2 separate regions of the Homo sapiens genome follow, and region 2 is linked to region 1. Evidence: promoter capture Hi-C in human tissues and cell types (Jung and others, 2019). All regions are on one chromosome and are shown on one strand. The core of a region is centred on a gene start or on the middle of the fragment in contact, and the rest is flanking DNA. Distances in the headings are between cores, read along the strand shown.

Evidence for each region. The method cuts DNA at HindIII sites, captures the fragments that hold promoters and counts their contacts. A contact is called where the count stands out against the background at its distance.
Region 2: a contact is called between a fragment that was not itself captured here and the fragment with the promoter of CAPN9 in region 1, in 1 of the 25 tissues and cell types used here (stomach).

The regions. Positions count from the first base shown.
Region 1 is chr1:230,743,329-230,749,804 of GRCh38, reverse strand. CAPN9 (calpain 9) reads right to left here and starts at 2,417. Exons shown (of 20, transcript NM_006615.3): 1 at 2,096-2,417. The coding sequence starts at 2,308. It also overlaps a transcript of AGT not described here. The HindIII fragment of the contact is 9,202 bases long and covers 657-6,476 here.
Region 2 is chr1:230,966,570-230,972,288 of GRCh38, reverse strand. All of the region lies in intron 1 of TTC13 (tetratricopeptide repeat domain 13), which reads left to right. Among named protein-coding and RNA genes, the nearest start is that of TTC13, 9.4 kb to the left of the region's middle. The HindIII fragment of the contact is 3,259 bases long and covers 1,964-5,222 here.

The DNA of each region.
Region 1 (6,476 bases), core at 1,168-3,667:
CTGATTCTTTACACACCAGGCTCTTTGCTAAGTGCTCTACTCATGGTAACGCAGCTGACCCTCATGAGGACCCCATAAGTTGCATTATTGTCCCCATTTTAAGGAAGAGAAAAAGTGCTTCCAACCTTTTCATATCAAGTGCCTGTAGAGAACATGAGCATCTGTATGAAACCCTGGATCAAACAGAAAGAGCCGCTGCTTCTGGCCAGGGGCTCTGCTCACCAGGGGCCCAGGAAATCAATTTCTCTAACTCTATTTCCCAGGGCTCCTGACATCAACTGCAGGGAAATCTCTGCCCACAGTTAAAAATGCACCCACAGCCTGCAGCCTGGGCAGCTGCCCACGCGCCCATTTGTTCATGCGCCGAGGCCGGAAATAAGCCCAGGGAGACCTAATGGTCGTGGGCGGTGCCCCTCAGAGGGTCACTCTTTTATGTCTTGTAACTTCTGCTTTTTTAGTTTGGAAATGTCCTTTTTCTTACTTAGCAGAGCATGACCTACTAATCCTGTCTGTAAAGTGCAACCCCACGTGATCTGCCAGTGCCGTGACCTCACACTGCAATTGGCCATATGCAGAGAACCAAAAACAATCACAGCGTGGCTTCGGTGAGGAAGGTGCCTGGGAGCTTTCACCCCAACTCCGATAGGGCCACTGAATGCTCACTGTGATTTCCCCATGAACATGGCACCTTGTGGGATCAATTACCTGGCAGGTGAAGATCAAAGCACCTGTGTGCCTATGCATGCAGTCACCCACCCCCCACATACACGCCTATGCATATCCACACACATGTGCACACAGTCACACACATGCACATACACAGTCAAATTCCTACACACACAAGTGCGTGCACACACATACACCCCACACTGCCTACTGCAGGAAATAGCAATAAAACCCTTACCACTTCGGAAACACCCACTTAGGTTCACTTTGGCCCTGCCCCTGAAGAGCCCAGAAGTTTTGTGAATGTGCGTTAAAAAAAATTGTTTTTAATCATCAACATTATTTTAATGTTGGGAGATAGTGAGGAGGTAGTTATGATGAGTCCTTTGCTACTCATATGTAAGATGAGACTCAGAGCTAATAATCATTGTAATGATGATAATAATAGTATCAGTAATAGTAATAATGTGACAATAGCTGTAATGTACTGGAAACCTTCTGTGTGCTAGACATTGGCCTGCATTAGCCATTATTGTTCCCATTTTACAGGTGAGGAGACTGAGGCTCAGGGAAATGAAGTGATATGACTATATGCATGAGACAAATTGTCAGGATAAGACAGGCACTCAGGATCTCACTTGTAGGACCAGCATCCCTTGTACTGCCCCTCCTTGCCCAAAAGCAACCGGACCCCACAGGAGCCACTCCCAGGCCCGTACCCACCTGGAGGGAATGGAAGCCAGCCCAGCTGGCGCCGGGTCAGAGGTAGAGCCCTGACTAATCCAGCACCGCAAATATTGACATGGCGTCCCAGGCACAAGCTAGCACCTCTTGGGACCCAGTGACCAGCTGGTGCCTCTTGGGACGACACCTCCAGACTGTCAGAGGTGGGGCACTGTTCACCCTGATCTCTGGGAATGGGGGGTGCATGGTTCTCGGGAGAAGATTCCTGCTTCCCTTGTATTCCATCTGTCACCCGGTTGCTGAGACCTTGCTGAGCCAAACATCCATCCACACTGAGCACCCTCAGCTCTGGGCCAGAAGCCACAGAACACTGTGCATAACGTGATCTCAGTGTTACCACACACAGGGTGGGGGCCTGTCCTTGTGGATAAGGTTTTGATTCGTGCCTATCACCTGCTGACAAGACCCACTCTGACTCCAGGTCCTCAGCCTCGGTGGGAGTCAGACAGCTTGGAGCCGGGGAGCGGGTACAACCAGATGCCCCGGGTCCCCACCGCAGAGCATCCCAGGCCTGTACATTATTTTCTGCCTCCAAACTGCAAAGCTTTCCACGGTAGACTGGGATGATGCACCTCAGTTGCACTGAGCGTAGCCGGCCCCTCCCCAGCACCCCTGTTTCCACTTCCTGCGGGGGCTGCTGAACCTCGGCCTCATCTATGCTCCTTCCCCTGCTCGCCCCACTCACCCCTGGTCGTTTCCACACAAAGGGGATCTGCGGCCTCTCACTGTAGAACAGGGAGGAATTGCTGGCTGGGAAGTCTGCATCCTCAAACAGGGTGCCTCTCTGCAGGCACTCCTGCCTCATTTGCTCAAAGCTCTGGCCTGAGGAGTGGGTGATCCGGGCGTCCTTGGGAACCGGGTGTGCCTGAGGCCCTGGGGCCCGGTAGAGGTAAGGCATGGCTGCTCCCTGGAAGGCTGGCTTGGGTCCGGCAGTGGATGGAAAAGAAAGTGAAGAAGCGAGCTGTGTGTGCCGGTCAAGAAGGAACAGCTCAGAGGGCCACTGGGCTGAGTGGCCCTCACCTCCACCTATTTTCTGGGCACCTCCCTGTTAGACTGAGATGGGACACGCCCTGATGGAAAACAGCAGAGAGAGCCCTCTGCCCACTCTGCACTCCTGCAGACTCAGAGGCAGCTCTGGGGCCTGGCACATTCCACTCAGAGGCGGCACCTCTGCTTAGTGCGCTCAGGGGGCCTCATGGGAGAGAGAGGATTGCTTCAGAAGGAAAAGGAGCAAGAAACCCAACTGGTCCAGGAGGTGGCTTTACGGAGAAGTGCACGGTGTGGTCTTGAGTCCCATCTCCTGCATCAGAGAATGGCAGAGTTTTGTAGTCGGAAGGGAGGTTGGTGAATGAAAGCAGGATGCATTATGTGAACACAGCTGGCACAGCTCCTGCACAGGCAATCCCATAGTGATTCAGCACTGGGGTCAGCAAACCTTTTCTGTAAAGGCCCAGACCATGAATATTTTCAGCTTTGTGGGCCACGCAAAGTCTGTGCTGCAACTACTCAACTTTGCTGTTGTAGTGACAAAGCAGCCGTAGATGTGACACAGATGAATGGGTGTGGCTGTGTTCCAATAAAACTTTATTTACAAAGGCAGGTGGGGGTTAGATTTCATCCAACCTGACCCCTGATAGAGGAGAACTCACAGAGGACATCGGCTCTTCCTCTAGGGCACATGTGCCTCTTTCATTCTCTAGACATCATATTAATAAAGTTCCTTGTTGTTATAGTCCTACAAATAGGATCTCACGTCTGAGAAAAAACAAATGTTAGAGGATGGAGGTGGTTTGATAAATGTGTTTGCCCATAGAAATGATTATACAGGCTGGGTGTGGTGGCTCACACCTGTAATCCCAGCACTTTGGGAGGCCGAGGAGGGTTGATCACCCGAGGTCAGGAGATCAAGACCAGTCTGGCCAACATCATGAAACCCTGTCTCTACTAAAAATACAAAAAATTAGCCCGGTGTGGTGGCGGATGCTTGTAATCCCAGCTACTTGGGAGGCTGAGGCAGGAGAATCCCTTGAACCTGGGAGGTGGAGGTTGCAGTGAACTGAGGTCGTGCCACTGCCCTCTAGCCTGGGTGACAGAGAGAGACTCTGTCAAAAAAAAAAAAAAAAAAAAAAGAAAAAAGAGAGAGAGAGAGAAAGAAAAGAGAGAGAGAGAAGGAAAGAAGAAAAGAAATGATAAATACTGGAGGGGATAGATAGCCTAAATACCCCAACTCGATATCACACATTCTGCACATGTAACAAAATAGCACATGTACCCCATCAATACGTACAAATATTATGTATCAATAAAAATAAGTCAATAAAAGTATTAGTCACCACGTGAAAACTCTGATGTTCTAAGCACTTTATAATGATTTCTGTGTGATTCTCTAACTAGTCAAAGTTGAGGTTTGGAGACAAGGGGTCTTGAGTTAATGGGTACAGTTAAAAGGCCATGATGTGAATTTTTATATAAGCTCACAGTTCCCAGGAGTGTGCACTCAGTCTGACACACGTTCTGTCTAGTAGATCCTGCATATGGTTTTACAGGGGAGGTCTAGACATTAGAGTTGGGGATATTTGGGTTTTACTCTGCTATGGCCTGATTGCTTGTATTCCGCACCACCCCCCCGACCCCGCCAAAATTTGTATGTTGAACCCATACCCTGCAAGGTAATGGTATTAGAAAGTGGGGCCTCTAAGGGGTGATTAGGTCAGAAGAGTGGAGCCCTCATGAATGGGATTGGTGTCATTATGAAAGATTAGGTCACAGAGGGCCCCCTCCTCCCTTCCACCATGTGAGGACACAGGAACCAGAAAGTAGACCCTCACCAGGCATGGAATCTGCCAGTGCCTTGATCTTGGACTTCCAGCTTCCAGAACTGTGAGCAACACATTTCTGTTGTTTATAAGCCACCCTGTCTGTGCTGTTTTGTTATAGAAGCCTGAATGAACTAAGACAAATTCCCAGTTTTCCCTGGGGTGATCTTGGGCGAGTTATCCATGCTGTCTGTCCCTGCTTCCAAGCTGTGAATCAGGATAATCGGTGCTGCCTGCTAGAGGCATGGCGGGTTTGTGGAAGCAAAGCCACTTGCAAAGTCTGGCACATGGAGGGGATCAGGAGCTGCTGATTCCTCCCTTTCCCCTATCCTCTCTGCACCCCCTGCCACTCCCACAGATGCTGCTGAATTTCATGGTCTCCTTCTGAGCCTGACTTGCCTCAACTTGCAAGGCATCTCTTTTGTCTCTTTGTTTGCACAATGAAGGACTTTGGAACTGGGGTCCTCTGGCTGGGACCAGAGTGCAGTTCTGGCCAGTCCAAATGATTCTTGGCTAGAGATGATGGAGCTGCCCAGGAGTGTCCCATTGCCCACTGCCCTGGCAGACGGCTCTGTTTCGAAGTGATTAAGGAGGGCAACCTAGGGAGACAGGTGTGGCAATGTGAGGGCCATCCATTTCTGGTGACACCTCGGCAGGGAAATGATTACCAGCCCAGATCTCTGGGAGCATCCCCTTCAAATGCCCCAGCAACTGAGAAAGGACCTTGAAGTAAATTTCAGCACTGACCAGAACTGTAAAGGGTTTGCTCAGCACCAGACCCACTCCCAGCTTCAGGGATTTACGTTCTCATTCTCCTCCCGATACAAACACCTCTCCAGGCTGGGGTCTTGTCCTTCCACCTGGGACTTATCTATGTATTGGAAGAACCTGCCTTTTTCTTTAGAGTCTTAGTATAGTTGCTAGGTAATTGGAGAATTGCATCATCATTGTGAGTAAAACAAACATGCCTCAGAGTAGGAAACACACCAAAAAGGTTTAACAATCCTCCAGAACCACAGCTGGAATTCCTCCTGCCCCCTAACACTCTGGGACTCTGAGAATGTCTGCGGGAGGGAGTGCATTCTCAGGATTTACAGCCTCATCATTCTTCCTGCCCAATGTCTGCCCACAGAGCCCTGGGTCCATCTTTCCTGCAGAGCTCATGGCACCGGACTTCTCCATGACTTTGTCTTAGCGTCTAATCCTGCTCCCAGCTCAGCCCAGTGCAGGGCAGGAGCACGATGCACATTTGCTGAGTAAACATTGAACCAATGCCTCAAGAAAGCAGATGGCATTCTTGGGTGTCTTCATTTAGTTTTCCAAACCTTCACTTCTCAGGATGAACAATAGTTACAGAAACTGCAGCCATGCAATCTAAGGTCTACCAGGCCTTGCACACTTCCTCACCCACACTGGGAAATGCCCTGAGTGGCTCAGAGGGAAAGGGCTCTGAGCTTGGGCAGAGAATCATGTGCACTGTTTTTAATAAGCTCTGCCAGCTTGTCGCTAGCCTAGAGATGCAATCAGCTTTGAGCCAAGCGGGGGCCATGCATCATGTTAAGTGTATTTTCTTCTCTTTAGCAGAGCAATCTGCTGAAGTGATTTCTACATGAAATGAACCTGACCTGGCATCTGGGGCCTTCCTGGCCTCTCTTTTCTGTGCTGTTCTTTCTCTGTCTCCTCCACACTCAGGCCTGTGGCGAACTCCCTTTGTTTCTCTTCTTCTTGTTCATCTTGAAGGGCAGCAGGAGGTGAACATAGTGCCTGGGTGGCTCTGGGATGCCATGGGGCAAAACCCCAAGGACAAATGCTCAGAAGCTTCACATGGGTGCAGGGAGATGACCTCTAGGACCCCACCCGGTCCAGGCCTTACAGCAGGGCCTGGGTTTTGAGGGATATGCCAAACAGCCTGGATCCTGCAGAGGGATCTCAGCCCTATGATGGGCTGAGAGTGAGCCCACCCGGCTGCGACATTTGTAGCCCCTTGGCTTGCAGTGTGGAGGATGGGGTGGGCTGGCGAGGAGGGTGGAGAGTGGAGAGGCAGGGGACCTGCACAGGTGTCCAGGTGAGAGGGGCTGAGGCTAACTCCAGATGTAACCAGAGTGAAGGCAGGAAGGGACAGATTCTTCTAGAAGTACTGTCAGGGCGTTCTGCTGGGGTGCAAGGGTGGAGGTGTAAAGGTGGCGTCCTGCCTTCAGACTTGAGCAAATGGGTGATGGTGGTGACAGAAGGAGGAGAGGCAGACTTGGA
Region 2 (5,719 bases), core at 2,344-4,843, 220 kb before region 1:
GAACCGAAATCAATAGCTGTCTGTTTTTAAGATTGCCGATAGTCTCATTCCATGCTAACCCTAGTTTCATTTGGGAAATGTTTTGTCTGATTTAGAGTCCAGCACCATGCAGTGGACTTACACTGCACATGTGCTGGCATTCTTTCCATAGACTCTCACTTAGGAATCAGTTGGTGCATCTCAGGACCACCTCTGCACAAGAAGACCAGTTGTCTTCTCTTGCAACTCTTCCCTGCTGGTGTTTGCAATGTTCTCAGTGACTCTGTGTTCCCTTGTCACTAATCTTTTCATGTCAGTGCCTAGCTCTGTTTCAGCATTCCCTGTGGAGTTGATGTTGTCTGCCAGTATGTGTGGGCTTATGAGAAAGCTTTTAGCTCTTAAAAGTATGTGTCACTTTGAGCATCTGATGCATCTTCAATCTAGTTTATAACCTTATGCTAAGTAACTGGCCTTTGTGGGGAAGGCCTGTTTTGTTGGTTAAGGCATCCTTCTTCTGTTCTGTTCCATGTAATTTGCTACTGTGCCTGTTTTTCCATCCCGTGCAGTGAATTCCTTTTCTTTTGATTCTTTACATATGTTTATATTTGTATGTGGGTTAAGATACCTTTGATCCTATTACATTCAAGCTTTGTTAAAAAACAAAAAACTTCTGTCTCTTTAAGATGGCTTTTGTGGATCCTTAGTTCCTATGGATTAATTATATGTTTACTTTATAATTTAATAATCAGCAGGCAGTGTCTATTTTCAATTTGCTTTACGATAATACATCTCAGGTACCGATGAATATTTCATTTCATTAAATGAAGCATATAAATTCTTCAGAGCATTTTTCCTGTTATTACACTCTCAAAGGAATTTACCACTTGGGACCATATTTCGGGGCCATTGAGCAATGCAGTATATGATGTCAACTGTGGTTGTCTTTTTTTTTTTTTTTTTTTTTGAGATGGAGTCTTGCTCTGTTGCCCAGGCTGGAGTGCAGTGGTGCAATCTCGGCTCACTGCAAGCTCTGCCTCCTGGGTCCATGCCATTCTCCTGCCTCAGCCTCCCGAGTAGCTGGGACTACAGGCGCCCGCCACCACGCCCGGCTAATTTTTTTGTATTTTTAATAGAGACAGGGTTCCACCATGTTAGCCAGGATGGTCTCGATCTCCTGACCTCGTGATCCGCCTGCCTCGGCCTCCCAAAGTGCTGGCATTATAGGCATGAGCCACCGCGCCTGGCCACCTGTGGTTGTCTTATAAGTGCAGAAATTGATAAAAGCAAAAGGCACTACAAGTTGATACCACACAGCCACCTGGCCTTCAGGTAGTTCTTTCAGCCACAAGAATTCTGTCTTCTCTTCGCAGGTTTACCCTATACCTGGGGTTAGGATTGTCAATAAATATCTGGCACTCTACTTTTAAGTTGTAGCTCATCCAAGGGAAAAGCCCAGTCATCCTTATTTTCAAGTAGCTCAGTGTGCTGTCTGTTATAACTAGGTGGTCGAGTGATAAGTGCTACCCAGCAGCTGTTGATTTCCTTATAAATTGGCCATGGGTTTGCCACTTATAAGCTTTCAGTCAGTTTTCTCACACACATGGATGTGTGAGAAATACATGCTACTGCCAATGCCACCTTCTCTCCTTCCTTGGAGGTGACGACTGTCATCTTATTTGACTAAGAAGCAGTGAGAAAACAACTTCCTTGCTCCCCACCACCCCAGCTACTGGCCTGCCCGCAGATGGACTGGTAGATTTTGCCTTCTGTCCTGTTGTGGTGGATGAGTGGCCGGTGCCTCTGCCTAGTTCAGCTCTCTGTTCACTGGCTCTCATTTCCTCTTGTCTTCCGTCAGCATACAGATGGTCTTAATAAAACTACCATCCTGAAAATACAAGCAACTAAGATGACCACACACCCCTCCAGCCACTGCCCCATCCCTCTGCCTCCTTTTACAGCAGAATTCCTCAAAGGAGATGTTCATATGGACTGCCTCCACCACTCCACTCTCTCTTGGACCTTCTATGGTTAGCTTTTGTCCTCGTCAATGTGCTGAAACTGCTCTTCTTAAGGTCAGTTGTGTGTGAGGTTTAGGAGGAGAGGAAAGAAGTTTCAAGACACTGCTATACCTAAACTGTTCATTACTAGGACCCAGCATTGGCAGAAGGAGTTGTGACAAATGTACCATGTTCTTCATTGCTGTGGCAAGACCCGGCTGTGCTATGTCTTTGTTTTGTGACCTTAAACATGTTCATTAACATTGAGTTTATTTCCCCATGTGTACAGTGGGCACAGTGTGCCTTGTATCTACCTTGGAGGATGGAGAATCAAAAGAAATGAGGTTTATGAAGGTATTTGGAAGCTGGGAAGTACTGTGAAGGCCAAGATAAGCTTAAAGAAAGCAGATAGAAAAATTTAACAAAAAAACACTGCGATTTTAGCCTATAAGCCTATACTAACATTTAACAATCCTTTTCTGTGCACAGGGCTTTATACCCTTTATTCTTCACAGTAGCCCTGTGAAGGTATCTGGGGGTGGTTATTTCTATTTTGCAGATGAAGGAGCTGAGGCTAAGACGTACTAAAGGACTTGCTCTAAGTCAAACAGTCAGGGAAGCATCTAATCTGGGTTAGTCTGACTCCATAGCCCTGCCCTGAGCCACTGTTACATTGCCTTCAAACTAATTAATTAAGTTTGAAGTCAGAGAAATACTAGAATTAAATATAAGACCTAGTTCTTTGAAAATACTGCTTAAGATTAGACAGTTATCTAGCAAGCCTAATCAAGAAAAATGAGCAGAAACAAGTATTTGGCTTGAGGAATAAGCAAGTATAATAAATATGAAAATCATTATAATAACTGTATCCAGCTTTATGGCCCAGATGTAGAACCTTTCAAAGAAATGGATAGTTCTTTTAACAAAAGATAAATTGCTAAGTTGATTCTCCCACTATCTCTTAAATACTCATCTTCACCAGGTCAACTCTTCTCTTATTAAACGTAAGCTTCTTAAGCTTTCTTTTTCTTTTCTTTTCTTTTCTTTTTTTGAGATGGAGTGTCGCTTTGTCACCCAGGCTGGAGTGCAGTGGCGCAATCTCGGCTCACTGCAAGCTTCGCCTCCCAGGTTCACGCCATTCTCCTGCCTCAGCCTCTCGGATAGCTGGGACTACAGGCGCCTGCCACTGCACCCGGCTAGGTTTTTGTATTTTTAGTAGAGACGGGGTTTCACCGTGGTCTCGATCTCCTGACCTCGTGATCCGCCCACCTCAGCCTCCCAAAGTGCTGGGATTACAGGCGTGAGCCACCGCACCCAGCCCCCTAAGCTTTCTTAGAGACTGTACTTACAGTCTCAGCTTATCATCCACCATAAGTTAATGATTATCAAATCATCACATCCATATCTGTAGTATTTACCTTTCTCTGGACTTTCTTAACTACATGCTAGAGAGCTTCCAGCGTAATCACTTGACTCAAGCCCAAAGTTAGCTCTTGACTTCCCTCTAAAACCTCTCTTCCTCTTAAACTCCTTGTTTCCGTTGATGGCACCACTTCTTCCCTCATTGCACAAACTGGAAACCTGTGTCTTTTCCCTCTTTCTGTGCCTAATTCTTCCTCAAGGCCCTCTCCTTTTTACTTGCTGTATCCTTTAGACCGTGACCCTCTATTTCAACCCGATGGCTGCTGCCTCCATTCAGACTTTGCTCATTTTAACTGGCCATGGCCTCCCACCTGCCCCCTGCTCTACTTGCCCCTTCTCTCCTTAGACACCTGTTAGTGATGTCGCCTCCTGCTTAAACTCATCCTGCCTTCTTAGTTTAATGCTAAGAAGAAAGGGAATAAATGAACTAGATGCTGAACTTGAGCTGCGAGAAGAGGTAATAAGGGAAATTAGAAGGCCTAATACAGCAAAGCTGGTATAAATGAATTAGAAATAAAGCAGCAGTGGAATTGAGAAATAGACCCGGGTTGTTTTTTTAAAAAAAGAATGATTAAGAAGTTCTGGAGGTCAGTGTGCATATACCTAATACTACTGAACCATACAAACTAAAAATGGCTAAGGCGATTGCTTTTATGTGATGTGTGTTTTTTTTTTAACCACAATAAAACAAAAAGGCCCCCCCCCCACCACCATAGGAAAACAAATTCTTAAGTGATAAAAAAAAGAAGAATAAAATAGATAAGCCTGATGAGGTGACTACAGAAAGAGGGAGCAGGTGCAAGTGTCAGTTGTGAATGAGAGGCATGCGCAGAGCTCCAGAGGCCATGAGAACTTAAGAGGCAACTGTGCAGAAATCTCTGCTAAGACATTAAACTCTGAAGCAGTGAAGAAATGTCCAGAGATGATGTAGAAGAACAAGATAGAATTCTGTGATGCGTTTTCACACAGTTTCTATAGTAATCAGCACTAACTTTACTTGTACGACGTAAGCAAGGAAGAAAACTAATGCTTTTCCTATCCAAGGAAATTTATACTATTTATGTACAGCTGGTTGGGCTGTAATTATTTATTATATTAAGTAGTTATCCTTTAATATAATCATTTATGATAGTAAAGTAATTAAAGCCATAGTGAGTTAAATATTTTAAGATCGAAGAACAAATTTAACCTCCTGTTCCACACAACTATAGTTATAACTCTAGCAACTATTTTTCTATTGCAACCTTAGAAGATACATACATAGTTATAAAAATTTTAAGTAAAATATTAGCAAGCAATTAAAAGAATGATCTACCTCAATCAGAGTTTGTTTTAGAAGTACACAGATGGTTCAACTTGAAAAAATTAAATTAGTTTGTTAATAGGCCAAAGGAGAAAAATCATAGAAACATCTTAAATAAATTTCAAAAGTGCTTGATAAAGGTCAGCAAGCTCTCCTGATTTAAAGTTTCTGGTAAAAAAAAAAATAGAATAGGAAAATACTTCTTTTATATGGTGAAGTACATCAGTCTCAACCCATAGCTGACACAGAGCAGCTTTCCACTGGATGTTGATAAATGTTAGGTGAAAAAGTTTTATCATCAAAAGTTGATGAAATCTCAGTTATTAAATGAAGTATTAATGTCAGGAATAAGCAGGGGTGCCTGTTAATCAGTGGCGTTATTGAGTACTTTTTGGAAGTTTCATCTAGTATAATAAGGTGCTAAATTAATATAAATATTTTAAAAGACCTTGATAAAATTACGTGCAGATAATACAGTTACCAGCTGACTAAATGGAGACATTAATAGGGCTGTAAAGAGTTCAGTAATGTGGGCAGATAAAATATTCAGCACTAGGCAGTTGGACAAAGGATTTACCATGTGCTGGTATTTCTGCCTGACTGCTCTCCCGGTGCCATAGCCTCCCATGGTGAAATCCATAATTTCCCTCAGGTCCCCATTCACTTATTCATGGCTAAGAGCACAGACTCCAGAACCAGACTGCCTAGGTTCAGATCCTCCCTCCACTGCTTTGCTAGAGGGTAGCGTCAGGATGATTACTGCAGGTTCCTCGGGCTCATTTTCCTCATCTTTGAAATGGGGATTCTAAGGTTGCCTGTACACGGTAACTATGTGTTAGCTGGTGTTATTCACGTCCTCGGGAAACTGACCAGGCCATATCTTCTGACTGTGCTGTCATGTGTAGCTCTCACACTGTTGTTGGTTTATGTTTCTTTGTGTACTTTGATTGCTATCAGTTTTCCCACAGGGAACTATAATGTCTTTGTAGAAGAAGGGTCATTTCTGGTTTTGCTCAGT